Linked DNA regions of Homo sapiens: region 2 is linked to region 1. The links are contacts of gene promoters, found by promoter capture Hi-C in human tissues and cell types (Jung and others, 2019). All regions are on one chromosome and are shown on one strand. Each heading gives the region's core, a stretch centred on a gene start or on the middle of the fragment in contact. The rest is flanking DNA. Distances are from core to core; before and after follow the strand shown.

What was found. The method cuts DNA at HindIII sites, captures the fragments that hold promoters and counts their contacts. A contact is called where the count stands out against the background at its distance.
Region 2: a contact is called between a fragment that was not itself captured here and the fragment with the promoter of LAMA3 in region 1, in 2 of the 25 tissues and cell types used here (dorsolateral prefrontal cortex and lymphoblastoid cells).

What each region holds. Positions count from the first base shown.
Region 1 is chr18:23,686,443-23,692,300 of GRCh38, reverse strand. LAMA3 (laminin subunit alpha 3) reads right to left here and starts at 2,848. Exons shown (of 75, transcript NM_198129.4): 1 at 2,324-2,848. The coding sequence starts at 2,617. RefSeq lists an enhancer at 2,940-3,489. The HindIII fragment of the contact is 10,376 bases long and covers 1-5,858 here.
Region 2 is chr18:23,764,968-23,770,562 of GRCh38, reverse strand. All of the region lies in intron 8 of LAMA3 (laminin subunit alpha 3), which reads right to left. Among named protein-coding and RNA genes, the nearest start is that of LAMA3, 78 kb to the right of the region's middle. The HindIII fragment of the contact is 6,883 bases long and covers 1-5,595 here.

The DNA of each region.
Region 1 (5,858 bases), core at 1,599-4,098:
AGACTTCGTCTCAAAAACAAAACAATACAAAACATTAAAACGTAATACCTTTCTACTAGGAATGCTGAATACAACTTGGAAGTGAACAATTACCGGCCAAGTTTCTACTTCTAAAAATTTTTAGGCTAACCGAAGGATGGGGCAGAGCTAGAGCTATAGTACCATGATTTAGTAGCTTAGACAGCAAAAGACGTGTACAGTCACTTGGGGCCTCTCACTTCGAAGGGCCCCTCGCTTACTTCAATGCTGTGCTGTCACCATCTTGATATTTAAAATAATTTTTTAACAAGGGGTTCTACATTTCCACTTTGCACTGAACTCTGTAAATTATGTGACTGGTCAATGCAGTTCTTCCATTTGAATCTACATATTTTTTTAGGTATCTTTTCAGCTATAACAACCACTAAAATCAAGTATAACATAAAATCAGGCCGGGTGCAGTGGCTCATGCCTGTAATCCCAGCACTTTGGGAGGCCAAGGTGGGCAGATCGCTTGAGCCCAGGGGTTCAAGACCAGTCTGGCCAACATGGCAAAACCTTGTCTCTACAAAAGATACAAAAATTAGCCACGCATGGTGGCATGTGCCTATAGTCCCAGCTACTTGGCAGGCTGAAGTGGGAGGATTACCTGGGCCTGGGAGGTGGAGGTTGCAGTGAGCCAAGATAGCACCACTGCACTCCAGCCTGGGTAATAGAGTGAGACCCTGTCTCAAAAATAAAATTAAATTAAAAACTGAATTGTTATAAGAGCTAAACTAAATTTCTCAAAAATAATTATACACACAATTATATTTGCATATTTGTGTGTTTATAAACACACAATCATAAAATAGAGAAAGCAAAATTATTTGAGGACTGTTAAAAGTATTTTCATCATTGTTATTTTATATTTTTAGTTTCTTTTCTTGCATGTTTTATAATATAGATAATATATAAATATGGTAAAAATATTTTCATCATTGTTATTTTGTCTTTTAGATTTCTGTTTTTGCATGTTTTAAAATATGCACAACACATATCAATATAATACATGCATGTAGTTTATAAGTAAATAAGCACATATGGCACTAGATGTTCAACAACTTGTCATTTATGGAAGTGCATGGTCAAAAGAGTTTCTAAAACACTAATCTAGACACCCAATGATAACCTTGCTCTTTTAGAACCCAAGCTCCAAAATCGCTCCCTCTTCCCACTTCCTGTTCCTCAACAATACTTTGCAGAAGAAGGAGGCAATTTGGGCTTAGTGTCCAGGATTTGAAGTCAGGACTGGATTCAAATTCTCCTGCCCCTTTGGGAGGTCAAGACAGAAGGACAGCTTGAGGCTAAGAGTTTGAGACCAGCTTGGGCAAAATAGCCAGACTCTGTCTCTACAGAAAAATAAATAAATAAATAAATAAATAAATAAATAAATAAATAAATAAATAATTGCCAGGCCTGAGGTTGCAGTGAGCCGAGATCGCACCATTGCATTTCAGCCCCGGCGACAGTGCGAGACTCTGTCTCAAAAAAAAAAAAAAAAAATTGCCAGGCACGGGGGGGCACGCCTGTAGTCCCAGCTACGCCCAAGGCTGAGGCGGGAGGATCCCTTGAGCCCAGGAGTTCGAGGCTGCCGTGAGCCGTGATCGCACCACTGCACTCTTGCCTGGCTGAGACCTGTGAGTAAGGGCCAGGCACTGCAAGATGCTGCTTAACATGCACCGCAATGTCGTTTGCCCCGGGTGTTCGCGGTGAGGCTCGGATCTCTGAGAGCCTTTCTATCTCTGTCCGCCTAAGGTCTCATTCGCCCCCAATGACTGGATGGTGGCACTTCAGGCAGTGCAGTGAAGTGAATCTTTTCAGTAACATTAGAGTGATACCGCTGTTATAACCTAAAAATTCTCTCTTAAAATACACCACAGAAGGTAATTGCCACCGACTTCTCCGAATAAGGCCCGGGAGGTGGGGCAGGAGGCGCCCCTGAACCCTCGAGGACTCAAGCCTGGCGGGACGCTCCGTGGGTGACGGAGGCGGGAAGGGCCGAGGCGCCTGCATCTCTTAGAGCGCAGCCTCACACTTTCCCCTCCACCAGCCCGAACCTGACCACAGCCTCATGTCACCTCGCGTGCTCCCCCTCCTCGCCTCGGGCCGGTGGTGCCGGTGCGGTGCTTCCACGAGATCGCTCCTGGGTCGTGGGCCCTCGCGCGCGGGGATGGGGGCTGCCCTTCCCAGTCGCCCGGAGCCACTAGCGCGCGTGAGGAAAGGGCCCGATCCCTTCTCCGGGTGTCTGGCCGGCGCGGGAAGGAAAAGGCGCGCCCACCCCGGCTCTCTCCGAGGCCCTCACCTGGATGGTGTGGCCGCTGCCTGGGGCGGTGGGGCCCCCGACCAACTTGCAGTAGAGCTCGGGCTGGGGCCTCCCCTCGCCGGGTCCCCTCTCCCCGCAGGTGGCGGTGGCCCAAATCCTCGCCGCCTCGGCCAGGTTGAAGTAAGTCGGGTGAAGGCTGAGCCCGGCCGCGGCCCCGGGATCCCGAGCGGTCGCCCCGCAGGCTGGCAGCACCCGCAGTACCAGCAGGAGCAGCGGCGTCGGCGGCAGTACTGGCCCCAGTGCCCGACCCCGAGGCCGCGCGGCCGCCGCCATCCAGCCGCGCGGGGTCCTCCCGCCTGAGCCGTCCGCAGAGGGGCTCGGGGGCACCGCCGCTCTCCGCCTGCGCCTCCCGGACCTGCAGCGCCAGGACTAGCGCAGCCGGGGATATGGGCGGCGCCGGGGCCGCTCCCCTTGCTCCACGCGCTGGAAGCCCGCGGCGTGGGGGTGGCCTCTCAGCTCTGGAACCTGCCGCGGCTGGAGCGGGCACCAGCCGGATCAGGAACTGACAGCGCTCAGCCGCGCGCCAGCAGACGGCGTCTCTCCCGCGCGAGGCGCGCTGCAAACTTCGCGGGCGGGGAATGGGAGAGGCGTTCCCGGGCTCCCACCCAGGCGGCGGGAACGGGAGCCTGGGATCTTCGAACCCTCCAGGCGCCAGGACAGAAATTAATTAGATCGTTCTCCTCTCTGGATACTCACCGCTCAGGTCAAAGCCAGAAAAGCCACCTGTGACCTAAGAGTAAAGGAGGCTTGTAAACGAATTTGGTTGAGAGCAGAGGAAACTGCCACTACCTACAGAACTCACATCAAAGACATTTCGATTTCCCAGCCAAGTGTTGAGTCGTCAACTCCTCAACACTGTGCACCTAGGATCCCTGTGGCACTGCAGCCACAGGCTGAGCCAGGGAACTGGGAGTGGTGGAACGTACATATTTAAAAGACAGCCAATAATGCAAGTTGTAATTTGCCAACCTGGAAAGGAACCTTAGAGGAAATCCTTTAGATGCCTAATCTGCTCAATTTTACAAATAAGCTAACAGAGATTGAGTGAGGTACGCCACCTGCCATGATGGCCTCAGAACAGAGAAGACCCCCTCCCCCCACGACCCCGGACTGATGCTTGGTCTTATATGCAGAACACCCTACTAAAACAGAACCCACATAGGCCCTCGAAGAAATTAGAGGAATGCAATATTTGTACAATAAAAATTGCAAAACCTCTTTGAAAGAAATGTTAAAAGACCTAAATGAGTGGAAAAGCCTCCCATGTTCATGGATTAGGAGACAATATTGTGAAGATGGCAATATTTCCTAAAGCAACCTACAATTCAACACAATGGATTTTGATAGGGATCAAAATCCCGACTTTTTTTTTTTTCAGAAATTGACAAGCTGATCCTAAAATTCATGTGGAAATGCAAGAGACCTAGAAAATCCAAAACGATTCTGAGAAAGAATGAAGTCAGTGGACTCACGCTTCCTAGTTTTAAAACTTAATACAAAACTACAGTAATCAAGACAGTGTAGTACCGACATAACGATAAACATAGATCAATGGAATAGAATTGAGAGCTCAGAAATAAACCGTTACATTTATGGTCACTGGATTTTCAACAGGGTGCCAAGACTATTCAATGGGAAAAGAATAATATTTTTAATAAACGCTGCTGGGAAAACTGGACATCCCAAAATAATCTAGTAGGATCCCCACCTCATACTATATGCAAAAATTAACTCAAAATGGATTTAAGATCTCTAAATTTTACATTTAGAGAGCTAAACTATAAAGCTAAAACTATAAAATTCTAAGGGAAAAACACAGGAGAAAATCTTCATGACTTTGGATTAGCAATGCTGTCTTAGCTATGATATCAAAAGCGCAAGCAACAAAAGAAAAATATAAATTGGGCCGGGCACGGTGGCTCATGCCTGTAATCCTAGTACTTTGGGAGGCCGAGGTGGGTGGATCACCTGAGGTCAGGAGTTCAAGACTAGCCTGGGGAAAATGGTGAAACCCTGTATCTACTAAAAATACAAAACTTAGCCAGGCATGGTGGCATGTGCCTGTAATCCCAGCTACTCCAGAGGCCAAGGCAGGAGAATCACTTGAACCCGGGAAGCGGAGGTTGCAGTGAGCCAAGATCATGGCACTACACTCCAACCTGGGCAACAGAGCAAAAATCTGTCTCAAAACACACACACACACACACACAAAGATAAATTGAAACTTACCAAATTTTAAAACTTTTGTGCTTCCAAGGCACCCTCAAGAAAGCGAAAGATGGCCAGGCACAGTGGCTCATGCCTGTAATCCCAGCACTTTGGGAGGCCAAGATGGGTTGATCGCCTGAGGTTAGGAGTTCAAGACCAGCCTGGCCAACATGATGAAATTTTCTACTAAAAATACAAAAATTAGCTGGGCATGGTGGTGCACACCTGAAATCCCAGCTACTAGGGAGGCCGAGGCAGGAGAATCACTTGAACCCAGGAGGCAGAAGTTGCAGTGAGCTGAGATTGTGCCACTGCACTCTAGCCTGGGAAACTGAGAATCCATCTCAAAAAAAAAAAAAAAAAGAAAGTAGAAGACAATCCGCAAGATAGAAGAAAATATTTGCAAACCATATATCTAATTAGAAATTCATATCCAGAATAAACTCTTACAACTCAACCATTTTTTAAAAAGTAGTGGGCAAATATAAAAATGGTCGATAAGCATGACCATGGAAGACGCTCAACATCATTAGCCATCAGGAAAATGCAAACCAAAACCACAATGAGATACTACTTCACACACACTGGGATAGTTATAATCAAAAAGATAGATAATAACAAGTATTTGTGAGGATGTGGAGAAGTTGGAACCCTCACAGATTACTGATGGGAATGTAAAATGGTGCAGACACTTTGGCAATTCCTCAAAAACTTAAACATAACATGACCATGTGATCTGGCAATTCCAATCCTAAGAACATACTCAAGAGAACTGAAAATATATATCCACACAAAAACTTGTACATAAATGTTTATAGCAGCGTTAGTCATATAATAAAAAAATGAATACAACCTAATGTTCCCCAACTGATGAATGGATAGACAAAATGTAGTATATCCATACAATGGAATATCTGTCACACATAAAAAGAAATGAAGTTCTGATCCATGCTTACAACATGGAAGAACCTTGAAAACGTTATGGTAGGTGAAAGAAGTCAGACAAAAAAGACCACATATTGTATGGGGAGTGACTGCTATTGGCTATGGGGTTTCTTTTTGGAGTGATAAAAATGTTCTGGAATTAGATAGTGGTGATGATAACCATCACGCTATGCATCACCACTATCACATCACCAATTGTGTGAATATACTAAAACCACTGAATGGTGCACTTTATGAATTTATGGTATATAAATTATATCTTAAAGCTGTTATTATGGATTTTTGCAGAACTGAAATATCTACTAAACATAAGAAATGTGGCCAGGTGTGGGGGCTTACGCCTGTAATCCCAACACTTTGG
Region 2 (5,595 bases), core at 1,085-3,584, 79 kb before region 1:
GTCTCAATCTCCTGACCTCGTGATCCGCCCGCCTCAGCCTCCCAAAGTGCTGGGATTACAGGCGTGAGCCACAGCACCCGGCCTTGTTAAGCTCTTTGATGTACATTTATTGGCCATTTATATATCTACTTTTGTCAAGTAGCTATTCAAATCTTTTGAATTTTTTTGAGGTTTTTTTTTTTATAACTGAGCTGTGGAAGTTCTTTGTATATCCCAGATACCAACCATTTGTCAGGTTTATGTTTTGTGAATATTTTCTGTCTGTAACTTGCCTATTCATTTTCTTAATAGCATGTTTTGTTTTGAGCAGAAGTTTTTAATTTTGATAAAATCTAAATTGTCAATTTTTCATGGTTATTGTTGATGTTTTTGTCTAGTTTTATAAATTGCCAATAGGATGGTATTTAAATCTCCAACTATGATCATAGAATTGTCTATTTTTCCCTCTAATTCTGTCAAATTTTGCTTCATGTATTTTAAAGCTCTATTGTTAGATGCAAACACACTTATGATTACTGTCTCCCTGATGAATTTACTCTTAGCATTACGAAATGTCTTTATTTGTGTTAATGCTCTTTGTCTTAAAGTTTACTTTGCCTGATATTTTTACTCTATCCTTCTAATGTTTATTGTTTACATAGTATATTTTTTCCCATTCATTTACTTTCAACTTGTCCTTATATTTAAAGGTAAGTACTTGTGAACAATATAGTTGAGTCTTGCTTTTTTATTCATTCTTATTGCTTCTGCCTTTGAATTGGAGTGTTTAGTCCATTAACATTTAGAGTATTTTTTATAGAGCTGGATTTGGGTCTACCACTATTTGTATCTATTTTCTGCTTGCCCCTTCCTTTTGTGTCTGGTGTGTGTGTATGTGGTTTTGTGTGTGTGTGTGCTTGCGCACATGCATGCACTTCATCCCCTGTTCCTTCATTTATCTATTTTTTGGATTATTTGAATGTTTTTAAAATTACCTTTAGAAGTATCTATTGGCCTTTTAGCTGTACCTCTTTGCATTATTTTGTCAGCAGTTGTTTTAGGGACTACAATATATATCCTTCACGTCTCACAGTCAAATTAGAGTTAATATTGTATTATTTTTTATGCTATTGTTGCATATGTATTATATTTACATGCATTTTATAAATACCATGAGACAATGTCATAAATTTTGTTGTAAGCGGCCCTACATACTCTAATTTTTTCCAGCTATATTGAAGTATTATTTACAAAATATTCTTTTATTTTCCTTTTCCATTATTTATTCTCTCCTCTAAAACATTTACAAATGGGATTGAGTAAAGGAAAATAATTACAGATCATTGTATTACCATAAAAGGGCAGAGATTTGGAAATAAAGAGGGGTTGGGAAGGTAGGTAGTTTCCTAAAATTCTTTTTCCAAAAAAAAAATTCAACTCTAATTTTAGATTCAGGGGGTACATGTACAGATTTGTTAGCTGGATATATTGCATGGCGCTCAGCTTTGGTGTATGATTGATCCTGCCACCCAGGTACTGAGCATAGTACCCAATAGTTAGTTTTTCGACCCTTGTCGCCCTTCTTCGCTCTCCCCTCTAGTAGTCCCCAGTGTCTATTGTTTCCACCTTTATGTCCATGAGTACCCAATGTTTAACTCCCACTTGAAAGTGAGAACGTGTGGCGTTTGGTTTTCCGGTTTTGCATTAATTTGCTTAGGATAATGACCTCCAGCTGCATCCATGCTGCTGCAAAGGGTATGATTTCATTCTTTTTTATGTCTGTGTAATATTCCATCATGTATATATACCACATTTTCTTTATCCAATCCACCACTGATAGGCACCAAGGTTGATTCCATGTCTTTGTTATTGTAAATAATGCTCCAATGAACATATGAGTGCATGTGACCTTTTGATGAAATAATTTATTTCTTTTGGATATATGCCAATTAATAGGATTACTGGGTTGAATGGTAGTTTTGTTTTCTTTGAGAAATCTCCAAACTGCTTTCCATAGTGGCTAAAATAATTTACATCCCCACCAGCAATGTATAAGTAAGTGTTCTCTTTTCTCTGCAACCTGAGCAGCATTTGTTGTTTTTTGACTTTTTAATAATAGCCATTCTAGCTGGTGTGAGATGATATCTCATTGTGGTTTTGACATGCATTTCTATGATGATTAGTGATATGGAGCATTTTTTCATACGTTTGTTGGCCACTTGTATGTCTTCTTCTGCAAAGTGTCTGTTCATGTCTTTTGCCCATTTTTTAATGGAGTTATTTGTTTTTTGCTTGCTGAACTATTTAAGTTCCTCATATATTCCGAATATTAGACCTTTGTTAGGTGCACAGTTTGCAAATATTTTCTCCCACTCTGTAGGCTGTCTGTTTACTCTGCTGATAGTTTTTTTTTTTTTTGTAGTATAGAAGCTCTTTAGTTTAATTAGGTCCCATTTGTCAATTTTTTGTTTTGTTGAAATTGCTTTTGAGAACTTAGCCATAAATTATTTCCGAAGGCCAATGTCCAGAATGGTGTTTCCTAGGTTTTCTTCTAGGATTCTTATAGTTTGAGGTCTTACATTTAAATCTTTAGTCCGTCTTGAGTTAATTATTGTATAATATATGGTGAAAGGTAGGGGTCCAGTTTCATTTTTCTGCACATGGAGAGACAACTATCTTAGCACCATTTATTGAATAGAAAGACCTTTCCTTGCCAGGCACGGTGGCTGACACCTGTAATCCCAGCACTTCGGGAGGCTGAAGCGGGTGGGTCACCTGAGGTCAGGAGTTTGAGACCAGCCTGGCCAACATGGTGAAACTCTGTTTCTACTAATAATGAAAAATTAGCCAGGCATGATGGCACACACCTGTAGTCCCAGCTACTTGGGAGGCTGAGGCAGGAGAATTACTGGAACCCGGGAGGCAGTGCAATAAGCCCAGATCGTGCCACTGCACTCCAGCCTGGGTGACAGAGCAAGACTCTGTCTAAAAAAAAAAAAAAAAAAGAAAAGAAAGAAAAAAGAAAAAAAGTCCTTTCCTCATTGCTTATTTTTGTTAACTTTGTTGAAGATCAGATGGCTGTAGGTGTGTGGCTTTATTTTTGAGTTCTGTATTCTGTATAGTTTGAAGTCAGGTAATGTTATGCCTCTGGCTTTGTTCTTTTTGCCTAGGGCTGCTTTGGCTATTTGGGCTCTTTTTTTGGTTTCTTCTGAATTTTAGAATAGTTTTTTATAGTTTTGTCAAAAATGACATAGATAGAAATAGCGTTGAATCTGTAGATTGCTTTGGGCAGTATGGCCACTGTAATGTTACTAATTCTTCCAATCCATGAGCATGGAATGTCTTTTCATTTGTTTTTGTCATCTATTATTTCTTTCAGTCAGTATTTTGTAGTTGTCCTTGTAGAGATCTTTCACCTCCTTGGTTAGATGTATTCCTAGATTTGGGCTTTTTTTATTGTTTGTTTTTTGCAGTTACTGTAAATGGGATTGTGTTCTTGATTTGGCTCTCAGCTTGAACATTATTGGTGCATAGAAATGCTACTGATCTTTGTATCCTGAAACTTTACTGAAGTTGTTTATCAGTTCCAGAAGCCTTCTGGAAGAGTCCTTAGGTTTTCTAAGTATAGAATCATATCATTAACAAAGAGAGATAGTTTGACTTTTTCTTTTGCTATTTGAATGTCTTCTATATCTTTCTCTTGACTGATTGCTCTGGCTAGGACTTCCAAGAATTTTTTTTTTCTTTGAGACAGTCTTTTTCTGTCACCCAAGCTGGAGTGTAGAGGCATGATCTTGGCTCACTGCAACCTCTGCCTCCTGGGTTCAAGTGATTCTCATGCCTCAGCCTCCCGAGTATCTGGGATTACAGGTGCACACCACCATGCCTGGCTAATTTTTGTATGTTTTAATAGAAGCAGGGTTTCACCATGGTGGCCAGGCTGGTCTCAAACTCCTGACCTCAGGTGATCTGCCCACCTCGGCCTCCCAAAGTTCTGGGATTACAGGCATGAGCCACCACGCCCAGCCAAGAATTTGTTTTTAAATAGTACTTTATATTTGCCCAGACACATACCATACTCTTCATTTCTTCCTAAAGATCTGAGTTTCCATCTCGTATTACCTCTCTTTAACCTAAAGAACTTCCTTTAGCATATCTTGTAGTGTAGGTCTCTTAGACAATAAATTCTCTTAGTTTTATTTTATCTACCAAACAATTTTCTTTTTGCTTTTATTCTTGAAGGATATTTTTACTGAATACGGAATTCTGGGATGATGGTTCTTTTTTCTTTTAGCACTTTAAAGATACTATTCCTTCTGTGACCTCCAGTTTCTAATAAAAAGTCCACAGTCATACTATGTTGTAATGTTTTCTCTGTCTACTTTCAAGATTTTCACTTTGTCTTTGGATTTCAGCAGTTTGACTCCACTAGGCCTAGGAATTATTTTCTTTGTATTTCTCCAGGTTAGGGTTCATTAAGCTTTTTGAATCTTAGCCTATTGCAAAATTTGAGGTATTTCCTACTATTATTTCTTCACTTTTTTTTCTGATTCATTGTCTCTTCTCTGCTTCTGGGAGTCCAATTACATGTTCCTTACATCTTTAGCTATTGTCTCACCAGTTCCCAAATCTCTGTTCATTTGAAATATATATATTTTTCTTTCTCTTCTTCAGACTAGATAAATTCTACTAATCTATCTTCAAATTCACTGACTCTTTCTTCTATTACCTCCTTTCTGCTATTCGGCCCCTCCAATGGATTTTTTATTTAACATATTGCATTTTTTAGTTATAGAATTTTCATTTTGATCCTTTTACAGTTTTTATTTCCCTACTGATATTTATTATCTTTTCATTCATTGTGACTATATTTTAATCTATTCTCTTGAGCATAATTATAATAGCAGCTCTAAAATCCTTAACTGCTAATTTCAACATCTGGGGCATGTCAGAATTGGTCCCTATTGATTGTCTTTTCTCTTAAGAATGGGTCACTTTTTTTGAATCTTCATATGTTACAAAATCTAGGGTTGTAGCCTAGACATTGTGAATATTGTGTTGTAAGGATTCCAAATCCATTAGCATTCCTCTAAAAAATGGTTTTTTTTCTTTATGAGACAATTAACTTTACTCAAGCTGCACATTCTGACTCTTAAGTGGTAACTAAAATGTCAAGTAAGTTATTTCAGTCTCAGATGAAATCCATCCTGTGCTTGGATTGTATGGAAAACGGACTGAGGGGTCAGTCAGAAACTTGAGAAGAATTTATATACAGAATTAGGGATTTCCCTGCTCTTGACTTCTCTTTTCCTGGACTCCCCACCAACTTTCCACAAGTTGGAGTTGTCCTAAGCTCTGCTCTCTGGTTCCTCAGAGAACACAGCTTTAAGACAAAGGTTCCATATTTCTAGAGAAATTTTAGCCAGACCACATGGGACCAACTTTGGCCTCCCCTCTGGGTAAAAGTCATAAAAATATGTAACTCACCCTATGCTGATCTGTTTTGCCAAGTTGCAGCTCCCCTCCAGTATCTTCCTGCTTATTTTTACTCTTCAGTGCTTTCAGATCATGGTTTTTGTGGTTTTGTCATTTGTTTATTTGTCTTTTGTATTTTGC